Linked DNA regions of Homo sapiens: regions 2 and 3 are each linked to region 1. Evidence: promoter capture Hi-C in 16 types of primary human blood cells and fetal thymus (Javierre and others, 2016). All regions are on one chromosome and are shown on one strand. Each heading gives the region's core, a stretch centred on a gene start or on the middle of the fragment in contact. The rest is flanking DNA. Distances are from core to core; before and after follow the strand shown. Region 1 holds the start of ID4 (inhibitor of DNA binding 4). Region 2 overlaps LOC105374958 (a long non-coding RNA gene). Region 3 overlaps LOC105374958 (a long non-coding RNA gene).

Region 1 (4,029 bases), core at 53-2,552:
GCCACCCGAGACGGGAAATGCGCGCTCACCTGGACAGCGCGGCTCAGCGGCACAGAATGCTGTCGCCCTGCTTGTTCACCGCGCCGGCCTGGAACAGCAACCGAACACCAAGGGAAAGGTTAGCAGGCGCAAACAACGCGCTCGACACGGTCCTGGATTGTCCTCGGAAATCAGGCTGGCGCGCCGACGCCCCCACCCCAGCCTGTAGCCGGGGGGGCCCCTCCGGGCTCAGGCGGGACTTGACAGCCCAGGGCGCCCACAGCCCCGAGTCCCGCCCTGCGCGTTCTCCCGGACCCGCGCTCGCCGAGCCCGGCCGGCTGCTGGCGGCCCGGGGGAGCCCGGAGGAGCAGGGGGAGGGGGCTGTCATTCCTGGCCCGCCCCTGCCCGGAGGACGGTGAGCGCCCGCGTCCCGCCACCACGCCACCAACCTCCCATCCCCCGCGGCGTCCGCCCACGGCCGGCGCCCGGCCTCTCACCGGGTCGGTGTTGAGCGCAGTGAGCGGGGTCCGCGGCGGCGCGGCTGGACAGGTCCCGGCCGGGTGGTGTGGCGGCGCGGGCGGTGGTGGCTGCCTCAGCAGGGCCGGGTGCGTCTCCAGCGCCAGCTGCAGGTCCAGGATGTAGTCGATAACGTGCTGCAGGATCTCCACTTTGCTGACTTTCTTGTTGGGCGGGATGGTGGGCACCAGCCTCCGCAGGCGGCTATAGCAGTCGTTCATATCGCACTGCAGGCACAGCGCCGGCTCGTCGGCCGCCGCCTCGGCCGCCTTACAGCGCGCTGCCGCCGCCGCCGCCGCCGCGGCTGCGGAGCCACCCAGGCTGTGGCCGTGCTCGGCCAGGCAGCGCAGCGCCAGCTCCCCGCCGCCGCAGCCCGACGGCGCCTTGCGGCCCGAGGGGCGCACCGGGCTCACCGCCTTCATCGCGCGCGCCCTGCGCTCTACGCGAGCGAACCCGCTGGGGCGAGCGAGGGAGGCAGGCAAGCTCCGGGCCCCGTCCGCGGCCGGCTCCGCTCCCTTTGCCTCCGCGCCCGGCGCGCTCGGGGCACCGCGACACTCCCGAGCCCAACAATTGACGGGAGGGTCGCTCTGGGTTTTACGAGGGAATCTTTGCTCAGTGGGCGACACTCAGCCCGAGCCCAAAGGAAAAAAAAAGCAAAAGCACCGGAAGAAAAGTAGCCCACCCGGGTGTCCTAGTCACTCCCTTCGGAGCTCCGACTAAGCCCGATCGCGGCCGCCGCGCTCCCCTAGCCCGGGATCACCCCACTCCCGGTACTACTCACAACCGCGCCTCCTCCACTACGCTCTCGCCCGGCCCGCCGCGCAGCTGTATTTATAGAGCCGTGCGCCCCGGGGGCGGGACCAGCGCGCGGGCCGGGTCGCAGCGCGAGCCGAGCGGAGCCCGCTGGGCGCGCGGGCGGGGGCGCGGAGGGAGAGGCGAGGGCGGGGGCTCCGGGCGGTGCTGGGGGGCGGGGAGTCCGGCTACCCGAGTGGAGGAGTGGGCGGGGGGTCTGGAGTGGCCAGCCAATCAGGCGGGCAGTGCCACCTCGGGGAATGACGCTCGGGCCAATGGGAAGGGCACTCCATTCCGTCAACGCTGTGGGTCGGGGTTCTGAGAAAAGAGAGCTGAGTGGGAGTCGGGCCAGGCTGATGTGTGCCCAAGGGAGGGGAAAAGAGAGAGCGAAGTTCCTGCGAAGAACTGCGGGAATGTGCGGCCGGAATTCACTCTCCACCGCCCCCCTTATCCCGACTAGGCTGCTGAGGGAGCGCCTGGGCCCTGCTCGCGGATACCCTGCCACTCCTAATAGCACGGCGCCCAGGGACCCTCCGCCACCCATCACTCCATCCGTGGGATTCCAGTGCCTTAAGAAAGACGCGCTGTTCAAGAAGGCACGTTCATTCTGTTCTATATTTCCCTCCTCCGTTTCATTATTCGCCTTTTCACATTTGCCGAAACCATAATGATGGAATGGAATGTGTAGCCTTTCCGTTTTCTTTTTAAAAAATGCTAAAGCTTAGCAAAAGTAGAAAAAAAAAGAAGGAAAAGAATGCCGAATCGAATGCAGGTTTTTGGTGAAGGGAATATAAATAAAACAAAAACGTGGGGGGGGTTCTTTTACCCCATCTAAATGCAAAAGTGGGCTCAAGAAATGCAGTTGCCTTGCGCATTCAATTAGAGCACGTAAAGATTAAAAATGCATGGACACGGAATATTTAAAATTCCATTATGACATATAATATTAATCTGTTTTATGTAAAATTCATACCTGTAACTTAATTTAGGCCATTAATGCACAGCTTCACGTATTAGTCAGCGTACCCCGCTTTAAATAAGGTGATGAGAATGTCCAGAGTCGCCTCCTTTGACAGCAAAGCATTAAAATTCACACTTCCAGTCTCTGGGATCCCGCTTGGGCCCCACCCTGCAAAAAAAAGCCTGTTAATTAAGGGCGTTTTTGTGTTAGATTTCTTAGAGAAAAGCTGTCCTTCAAGGGTTCAAAATAAAATTGCACAATGAGCTTTGGTGGAGCATTGTGTGTACCCTTCAAGAAAAAATTGAGCCCTTCAGATGAGAAAGGTGCATAAAAATTCTCAGACAATGGGGAAATGAATTTTGAGTGCCTTCACTCTACAAACCCTCCCACCTTTAGACACGCTTGGAGATGAATTAACCCAAGAATTTTCTTCATTCGTGTACATGACATGGATTGGTGTCTTCATTTTCATAGATAATTGAAAGAAAGAGACATGGACCTCATTTCTTCCTGTCTACCCCTATATGGACTTTTTCTACATCCATTCCCAGAACTGAAATACCTGCACCAGGCAGATATTTTGTTTAGCTATGTCAGTGCTTTATGACTATCGCACTATTCCCCAGAGCACATTCCTTTCTCCTGATGAAATGAGGAGCAACTATTTAATTCTGGTTTCACAGGTAGATGCAATAACCCTCCTCTCCCCTAATCCTTGTATGTTACTGCTTCTAATAATTGTTTGGAAACAAGTGCCATTCTCATTTATTTATGTGCATACGTAGATGGTCTACATACACATTAATCGAGAAAATCAGAATTATGAAACTCAGAAGGGCTTTCTTCTAAAGACAGGCATAGTCATATACATCATTAAATTAATGCAAATACAGAGAAAATGTTGTAATTTTAAATGGGAAGTCGGTGAAGCCAGCACTACTGGTTGTAAGCTATTATCTTGGAGCCAGTCATATGAGCACAGACGATAATAATAAATGGATATATGTACAGATGTTTTGTTCCATTGATCTTTCTCTTTCCTAGAGTTTAAAATTTGCTTCCAAATTCAAAACCCAAGACTTTCCTCTGTTTGGCAAAATAAAACTATGCTAATATGCCCAGGACACACTTACATTTAAACATTTTACATATCCTAACGATTAAAATTAAAATTTAAGTTTTGAATACGTAACACAAAGGAAGAATCATATCGACCTTTTTGGAATTTGCTAAATCTCAGAAAGCCATGCCTTGGGTGTGACAAGCGCCAAATGCCTAAGTTTCAGGTTTTGTTGGAGATGCTCTGTGTGACTGGCTTAAAGTTAGAAAGACTGAGTTACTCTGTGTGGGGTGGGGTGGAAGAGGTGGTTTCAAAGGAATGTACCTCAGCCACAAGATCAAGAATACCCAGGAAAGATGTGATCCGTAAATCCTGCTAGCAGAGTAGGCAGAGGCAGTTACTGTGCTCCTTGTTTTGAAGGTTGGAAGGCATGAAGACATTAAAAAATTAAAGTGCTACCATATACTATGGGAATAAGGAATACAATCCTGCACGTTTTGGTCCATGAAACCAGAGAGTACTAGGGGCTATGCAATGTATGTTTTTGTATTCTTAGACATAGACACTTACATGACATCAAAGCTGCAATCATGGAAGATTCCTGGCACTGATAATTCAAAACAGTTTACCCAATTATCACTCAGATTTTGGATAAACCTTACAAGCTATGTTATTTCTACTGTGCAGAGAAGGTAACTTAGTCTGTTGGTGACTCTTTTAC
Region 2 (4,248 bases), core at 945-3,444, 830 kb after region 1:
TCAAAGTAGAAATTTTATTCACTGACCTGTACCTACTAAGGCAAAATTTCTAAATGATACATTTTAGGATGATCTAACAGAAACTGGAACAGCAAAGGGATTGACACCAGCAGAAGGTCACAATCCCTTGAGTTCTGGTTAATGGAGACCATATTGTGCATTTATCATCAATTAAATGAGGGTATAGAAGGCCATTCACAAATGTTAGTTATGTAGAGATAGAGGAAATAAGGAGAAAAAAAACCTTATTGGACATATTAACGAAAACTGGCCCTTCAATGGAGCAGATGATCTGAGATCATCTATCTCTGATACTTTGTAGTGGTATGATATTGAGAAAATTCCTTAACTTCTATGAGCTTGCATTTTCTTAATTTTAAAAACATGTATAATAAAATTATGAATCACAGAAATTTTATCAGTGTTACATGAGTAAAAGATTTTAGAAGCACCTAGTGATACGTTTGGTACATATAATATTAATTAATCTTTTATTCAATCTTTCATTTGTTCAAAACCCACTTAGCATTTGCAAATACAGTGACATAATCCTTGAATATAATGACTCTGTATACCTAAGAACTGCTGATTTCCAAATTTCGAGATTTGCAAATGGATTCACCAATCTGCCAAGATCTGCACGAAATGTTTCAACAGAGCAATTATAAGTTAACTCTCTCTTTTGTTTCATGCTTCATTTTTAGATGTTTCATAACCAACTCCTTTGGAAAGAAAAAAAAGTAGCACATCAGCAATTTTTAAGCACGTTAGGATTTGAACAGCTGAATGACAGTATCTCCTGGAGGAAAGATTTTCTACTCACAGAACCTGAGATGAGAATCATCTGTCCCAGTTTTACAAATTAAAAAGGAAAAAAGAAACTCCAGTGCCTTTTCTGCCAGTATTTTCTGATGTTGAAATTCTGATACAAATATTCAAGTTCAATGCAATCCCATCATGAGCGTATGTGTATGAATGAATACGTATACATATATATGATAGACTCCTGACAATCAAAATAATGTTTTACAGGCAAGAATTCTTTAAATTAGAAAGCTACTAAAATGCATTTAACTTGCTTTGTGAGAAAGCTAACCCTTTGTCTGTAACTCCCAACCCTGGTTGCAAAATGCAATGACCTAGGCTGACTCTTTTTTTTTAATCCTATATCTAGAAGTTTCTCATTCTGATTTAATTGGTCTGGGATGACTACATTGGGATACAGACTACATTGGGATATTTATAAAGTTTCTCAGGTGATTTTTAACATGTACAAAGTTGAGAAACAATGCCCTACACCAGTGATTAGTGGCACATGGCCTTGGTAGTACATTACAGTCACCTGGGGGAGCTTTAAAAAATACTGATTCCCAGGGCATACCCCAGATTTATTAAATAATAAGAATAAGAGGGGAGAACCACAGTCATCAATATTTTTAAAACTCCCCAGCATAGGCTACCTGGGTTGAGAGACACTGCCTGTGCTCTGCCAGTGATATAATGATTATGATGTACATTAGACATCAGATGATTCATTATCCCGCCTATATCTCAACTCACTGCAGCTGGGACTCATATTAGACACCTCATCTTTGTTTCACATATAGAATTAACAAAATTAATTTCAGGTTCTATCATACCTTTACTAAGATGAACATTGTGTCAGTGATCAGAGAATTGCCTCTAGTGTTTCTGACATATTTGCTTTCACAATATTTTGAGAACTAATAGTCTACTCTGAGCAAATATTAATATCATTCCATGTGAGTAAATTTCGTCCTGGAATTGACTGTGGGCAATTCATGATTTCACGAGCACTGGGGTCTCTATTCCTTTGCTGGAAATTTTGATACCACCGATATATGTCACATTTTAGGCACATTTAACTGTGCAGCCGGTATTGGGTTAGACTATACCCTTCATGCTCATGACTCTTTAATATCTGCTAATTTCAGAAGATCTTTTGAATATCGTAGGGAAGTGTAGGTCCCTTTTACTTATCACCATTTTTCTAAAGCTCATCACGCTCCAACATTAGAGAAGTTTCAAGGAAGCTTCATCTTAATATTGACACCTTGATATGACCTGTCCCCAAAGAAGAACTGTCACGTTTGTGATCAGTATCTTCCCTCAAATAGCAATGGAAGCATTGGTCTGGAATTATTGAGTAATTTGACTTAGTGATAATTATGGTAGTCTACAGATACTAGAGATTATTATGCATTTATTACATGATCTTTGCTTAGAACTATTTTTACACGGTCTTTGTTGGCTCTCTTGTAAATCTGTTTCAGAGCAGGATCCTCAGGAAGCTGTATTTGAAATGAAGCTTTGTTAGATGAGAAATCAAATTCACAATCCTTCTGTGGTTTTGGTGCAAGAGCTCCATCTGGAAATGGACCAGCCCTTACTGCCTCAGCATATGTCCCAGGGACTACATTCTCCCAATAATTGAACACTTTGATTCCAAATGCAGCACAGTTTTCTCTCTTCATGCTGTTATTCACCTATCTCTGAGCATGCAAACTTCAGGAAGCCAAAGTGAGTGTAGAAAGATATTTATAATGAAGAAATAAAAAAATCCTTATCATAATTAGGTGATGCTGAAATATTCTTCTAGTTGGCATTCTGCCCAGGAGTTTAAAGGGTTTTTACTTAGTTCTGACTTTGCTTACCTGTAAACCAACCGAGTTCCCTCCATTTCCCTGCAGTTTGGCATTTTAGTGTTACAAACCATTATTCATTGGAAGTCATCAAAAGACAAGGGACCTTTTTCATTACAAAGCTCCTGGGTGGAATAAAATGGCTTACATTGTTGAAGGGAAAAGGGGGACAAGAAATGAGTATTTTCTTTCTAGAAAACACACACAAACACACACACACACACACACACACACACCTGTATATCTGCAATCCAGATGGCCATGGTGCCCTGGATGGGGAAGAAATAATCCACTTACTTCTTCTTTTGCTTTTTATATGGACTACCACGAATGGCCAATCCTGACCCTCAGGGACTGCTCTTTAAGTGTTCTTAAAATTGAAATAGAATTGGAAGTGTCAGTTTCTGGACCATGTCCATGTCACCACAGGTGGAAACACAATGGTTAAACTAGGATGGACAGGAACTAAGGAGTCAATCAACTTTGACCTGGATTGGCATCCAATATGGAGGATTTCCGTAATAATAACAGGACACAGTTCTCTTTAGGCTTCCCTTTATCCTTAGCTCTGATATATTAGATTCTTACATATTCTATGTTTTTAACTGAAACAGCCTGCTGCTAAAGCCTTCAGACTACTCTAATTCTGGAAGCCTAATTTCAGACTACTCTGCCTCCTCCCAGAGGGAACGAAAGCCAGGGAGAGATGCTAAAGCCATAATCCTCAAAGGATAGTTCTGCTTGCAGATCTAGGGCTTTCATTTAAAAGAATGACTCAAAAGGCCATTTCTAGGCTCGTGAATCTCAAAAGTCAATGTCGATGAGTATTATCTCAGACACTTGTAAGAAATGCGTACATTCAAGCCCCTTTTTTCTGATTCGGAAGTTCTGAGTTCAGGTTTGGGGCCAGGGGATCTGATATTTCACTGCATATGATCCTGATGTAGTCGTTCGGTGGAATACACAAGAGTCACTAAACTAAACTACAATAGACTTGGGAACGCAGAAATAGGAAGTTTCTTAGATTTTTCTTGAGATGTGGATTTTAAGGTATATTTGTTATATTTTCTCTTAGTTTATTTTAAATACCAGGTAACCCTGAGACACACTGAAACCTGAAAGTCATATAAAGTTATGTCTAATTTAGTGTGCCTGAGTACATAAATTGGTTCAGATTAGCTAATGAGGACACATTCATTCATTTGGCAAATAATAGTTAAACTTTTTTTTTTGAGATAATCTTGCTCTGTTACCCAGGCTAGAGTGCAGTGGCATGAACACAGCTCACTGCCGCCTTGAACCCCTGGGCTTAAGCAATCCTCCTGCCTCAGATTCTCAAGTAGTTGGGACCAGAGGCGTATGCCACCACACCCAGCTAATTTTTTTTCTCTTAATTTTTTTTTTCATGGAGAGAGGGTCTTGCCATGTTGCCCAGGCTGGTCTTGAACTCCTGGGCTCAAGCAATCCTCCTGCCTTGGCCTCCTAAAGTGTTGGGATCACAGGCATGAGCCACTGTGCCTGGCCTAGTTGAACTCTTGCTCAGCTAAGAATTGTGCAAGGTACTGGTGGCACAAAGGCAAATGAA
Region 3 (4,213 bases), core at 1,150-3,649, 860 kb after region 1:
CAGGCAGAGCACAAACGTATGGCAGACCCAATTTGCCTCTCCTCACTACCAGATGCTGTTGTGCAGTATACAACAATACATGGCAATGCTGACCACTCTTTTTGGTCATTATTTAAGCTTATTTAGCTTCAGTTTCCTAATCTGTAAAATAGGGATAACGACATATCCCTCTGAGACTGTGAAGGGTAAGGAGATGATTTGCCGAAAGTGACTGATACATGGTTGGCACTCAACAAATATTCCCCAAACTCACTCCTTAACTGTACTGACATTTCAATAGGCTGGTTCACACAAAAGCCTGGCTTTCTAAGGCTGTTTACCTTGCCTCTGAGCCCTAGTATGCATGATTTTCAAATCTCAGCTTTTTACCTATGGAATGAGAATTCTCTTATCTTTACATGCTTTCAAAATATTTTGAGAATTTTGAATACTTGAATAGATGTAAAGCACAGTCATACAGAAACCTATACTTTTATATACACACATCTATATAATTATATGTTCCCTTTAAATCAATCATACTGATATTAGCTAATATTAATTGTCTCATTAGGAATCCTGTTAGCCAGAGCTAGAGTCAAGGATCCTTGAGAAATCTAATTGACTCAAGTTAATTGTAATTTTTCCTAGGGGTTTTATTACGATAATTCCTAAGTTGATTATAATATTCTACATTTTTGCACAACACTGAGATTCTTCAAATGAATTATACTTATATGATGACAAAATGTTTGATGATAAAGACAAAGCCTATTATGTTTCATTTGGATCATTCTCTCTATCTTCTATGTTTACCCCAGCTCTTTTCTCACTTTCTATTTTTCTTTGTTTTCTCTGTGTATGTTTTTTTAAATTATCACTTTGTTAGCTGGATCTGTGTTATAAGTGTCTTGTTCTCCTAGTCCATCTCAGTGAAAGGTAGCATAGCCAGGCAGAAAGGATGTGTGTTCTAGAATCACAAGGTCCTAAATAGAAGCTCTAGCTTTTTCACTTACTGTATGATCTTTGAAAAACACAATTTGTATTAACTTCTGTTTTCTCTGCTCTAACGGTGCAGTACTCTACATATACAAGGTAATGTTCAATATGAGAGGTAGAAATTTAGCCATTTAACATCCAGTAAAATTTGGGGGGATATATCTATTCATATAGCATACAGTATGGATTCAAAAAGACTTTTTTGTAAGTAATTGTAGTTTTTAAATTTAGTTTTGACAAAAGCTGTTTTGTTTCTTTTATTTACTCATTTAAATGAAAAATGTGAACTTGAAAGAATGTTCTTCCAGAAAGATCATTCAAGCGCCATCTCTTCCTCCATCTATTAGCCGAATGACATTAGACAAATCATTTAATTTCCTGAATCTGTTTCCTAACTTGTGAAATCAAAGAGTCAGAAAAGATCACCTCTAAGGTGTTCCAGCTCTGAAAACTTTAATTGTAATTTTCCTTTACTGGGTTAAAATATTAATCACTCTTTAATAATGACATGTTCCAATCATGATCTACAACAGCTTATCCACAAATTCCACTTGATAACACATACTTAGAAAAAAATTACATCCTTAAAAATCTTTTGTGGATTTTTTAATATTAATACTTATCTTGTATTTTAGCCATCATGTACATGTTTGAAACATGCATGCTTTATAATACATGTATCATCTAAAGGGCTACCAACTAAATAACTTCCCAGTGGATGTATGGATATCTAATATTCCACAGCCAGAGCCCAAAGAAAATCCTCAGTTACTGATATTCCACAAAAACTGTGAGGCCTGTGCCTATTGTGTTTTATTTTCTTCCAGTTTTATGCCAGTCTCTAAATCCTATGCTCTCATTTTGTACTTAGTTTCTTTGATTTAGAGCCAGATATAAAGTAGGAGATATAGAATTTGTAACTACATTCTTGACTCAATTATCAAAATTCACTGCACAAAATGGACTTATATTCCTCTACGCATATCTTTCCAAAGCTTCTCCAAAGCCTTAGCATTTGAAATAATTTTATATTTCAGATTCCATTTGGATAATTGTTGGATGGTAATGACAGGTCATATGTTTAATGCACTTTCCAGATTGAAAGTCATTTAAATATCTATATCTTAGGGCCAACAATTTCCAAAGGTAATCACCTTAGTTTGCTACATTTCACTTGCATGTGTTACAGGCAGAAGGTGACACTGTTTTGAAAATTGGCAATGAAGAACATAAATACCATTTTACATGTATCATTCTTAGTTCCCTAAAGGAAAATGTGTGTGGTTGTATAGATATGAATTACATGCATGCTGTATATGGTCTACAGATTTTTTTTGTGATTTAATATTGAATAAAACATATTAGCATCTACGTAAGTGCTGAGGCCTAATGAAAATTGAGCAATTAATTGGGAAATTAGATTAATCATCAACATGTTAAAACTGACTTTTCCAAAGGTGACAGGATGTAGTACAAAGGTTATGTGCTGGACAAACAGGCAGATATCAGTTTGAATCCCAGTTTCTAATCATTTAAATTTTAGAAAGTTATTTAACTGATTTAACAATTTTTCACATTGAAAATATGGATAATAATGTCTATTCCCTAAGACTATTTCAAAATGTGATAAAATGTAAATGCAGGTGGTCCGAGGACTTCATAATGAGGACCACTTTATTAAAAATTTTAGCTCCCCAAAGACAAAATTCAAAGTTATATCCTAGGAATTAAGGGTCATTCTAGTTAATTTATCTAATAACTGTTTCCTGATATAACTGTCTAGTATCCTAACAGGGGTGTGAGGCATTGTGAGTTGCTAGGCAACGTAGGAAAGCAAATAAAGCTTCAGTTTGCCTGGGTAGGAATGTAAGTCAGCTACAGAGGCAGATCCCAAAGAAGGAATCTGTAGAGAGTTTTTAGTCTTACTCAGCCTTTACAATCATATTACCATTGAAGGAAAATTGGTACTATTATGTTCCCCACCTCCATGTTTTACAAACTAAGCCTTAGAAAGTTTCCTGAAGACAGATATTCTATGGTGGTAGGTAGTGAGATTTTCTAATTTCAGGATGGTATTGTTTAGTGACAAAAGGATGATAAGTAGTAAATATTTCTTAACTGTGGAAATGCCTATAACACACTTAGTGGTTATCTAATCTGTGGGTTCATCAAAGGGCCATGCTTTATTTATTTTTACACTTTACTCTTACCCCAGAATCTGGAATGTGTATGGCACTTAATAAACATTTCTTGACTGAAGAACTATGTTTTTATAATGTAAAATATGGATAATAGTCCTAGCTGGCTTTACATAAATATTGGGCAGTAGATAGTGAAGTTTCCTTTTTTCAGTAGAACTGAAACAATCAAAGAAATGTTATTTTAGTAAATGTTGATCTCTTTTCATTCTTTCTCCCTGGACATTCTCTGAAATCTCTGTCAATGGAATTTGTTTACTCCAAATCACATCTTTGTTGCCTTTGAGTATTACCATGTTTGAATGTTTACCACTCAAATCCAGCATAAAAGTGTCTTCTTTTTTAGGTAAGATCAGGCAAAGAGGTACTGAATGAATAACACTTGATTGGGAATGGTAAATAACCATGCAATTAAACTGTAAACACTGTGTGTGGTGATTTTAATGTAATTTGAGGACTTGTAAATTATATGGTCATAAAATGGCACTTGGGCTTATGCTTTACAAAAATATCCATGTTTGTATGAGATTAATTAGCGCAGTTTGCATAAAGACATTGAGTAAAGCACTTTCTGAACATTCTCATTTGTAAGGTTTTCTTATTTATAAGGCTTTCTTTTTATTTCTTTCTGTGGTCTTGAAGAAATTATTATCATTGTCCACAGATTTCTGTAGCTGCAAATTAATCTGGACACCAGTAAAGAGTTGATGGGTTTCAGTTCTGCTTAAAAAATAGATTTTTAGTTCTTAAAATGGGTTGGTCATTTTACAGGCTGATTATATCGTTACTTCTTTGGTTCAATTCATGGATCATCAGATGCCCAAATAGGGCTTTTTCACTGTTGGGAGAGTTTATATGCATTATGTTATGAATCACACATACTGCAGCCCAAGGGAAATAACTGTAGCAGAGTGGCTATTAAGTGCTGTTACCACTGCTTTCCACTCATTGCAAGTTTTGCCTAGCAAGGGTCTCCTTTTGGTGTGTGTGATGGTAACAGTAGGAGACCCAAGGTAATCTTACCATCTGAGGCAGCT

What was found. Contacts are between HindIII fragments. The CHiCAGO score rates a contact against its expected background, and 5 or more counts as called.
Region 2: a contact is called between a fragment that was not itself captured here and the fragment with the promoter of ID4 in region 1, in 1 of 17 cell types (endothelial precursors). The highest score is 5.5, in endothelial precursors.
Region 3: a fragment that was not itself captured here is called in contact with the fragment with the promoter of ID4 in region 1 in 1 of 17 cell types (endothelial precursors); the score reaches 5.1 in endothelial precursors.

Annotation. Positions count from the first base shown.
Region 1 is chr6:19,834,643-19,838,671 of GRCh38, reverse strand. ID4 (inhibitor of DNA binding 4) reads right to left here and starts at 1,302. Exons shown (of 3, transcript NM_001546.4): 1 at 477-1,302; 2 at 30-88. The coding sequence starts at 917. The coding sequence ends at 44. The HindIII fragment of the contact is 2,827 bases long and covers 1-2,009 here.
Region 2 is chr6:19,006,454-19,010,701 of GRCh38, reverse strand. The region is part of intron 1 of LOC105374958 (a long non-coding RNA gene); the gene reads right to left. Among named protein-coding and RNA genes, the nearest start is that of TRQ-CTG1-1, 170 kb to the right of the region's middle. The HindIII fragment of the contact is 275 bases long and covers 2,057-2,331 here.
Region 3 is chr6:18,977,165-18,981,377 of GRCh38, reverse strand. It overlaps LOC105374958 (a long non-coding RNA gene), which reads right to left. Exons shown (of 5, transcript XR_001744010.1): 1 at 4,200-4,213. Among named protein-coding and RNA genes, the nearest start is that of TRQ-CTG1-1, 140 kb to the right of the region's middle. The HindIII fragment of the contact is 848 bases long and covers 1,976-2,823 here.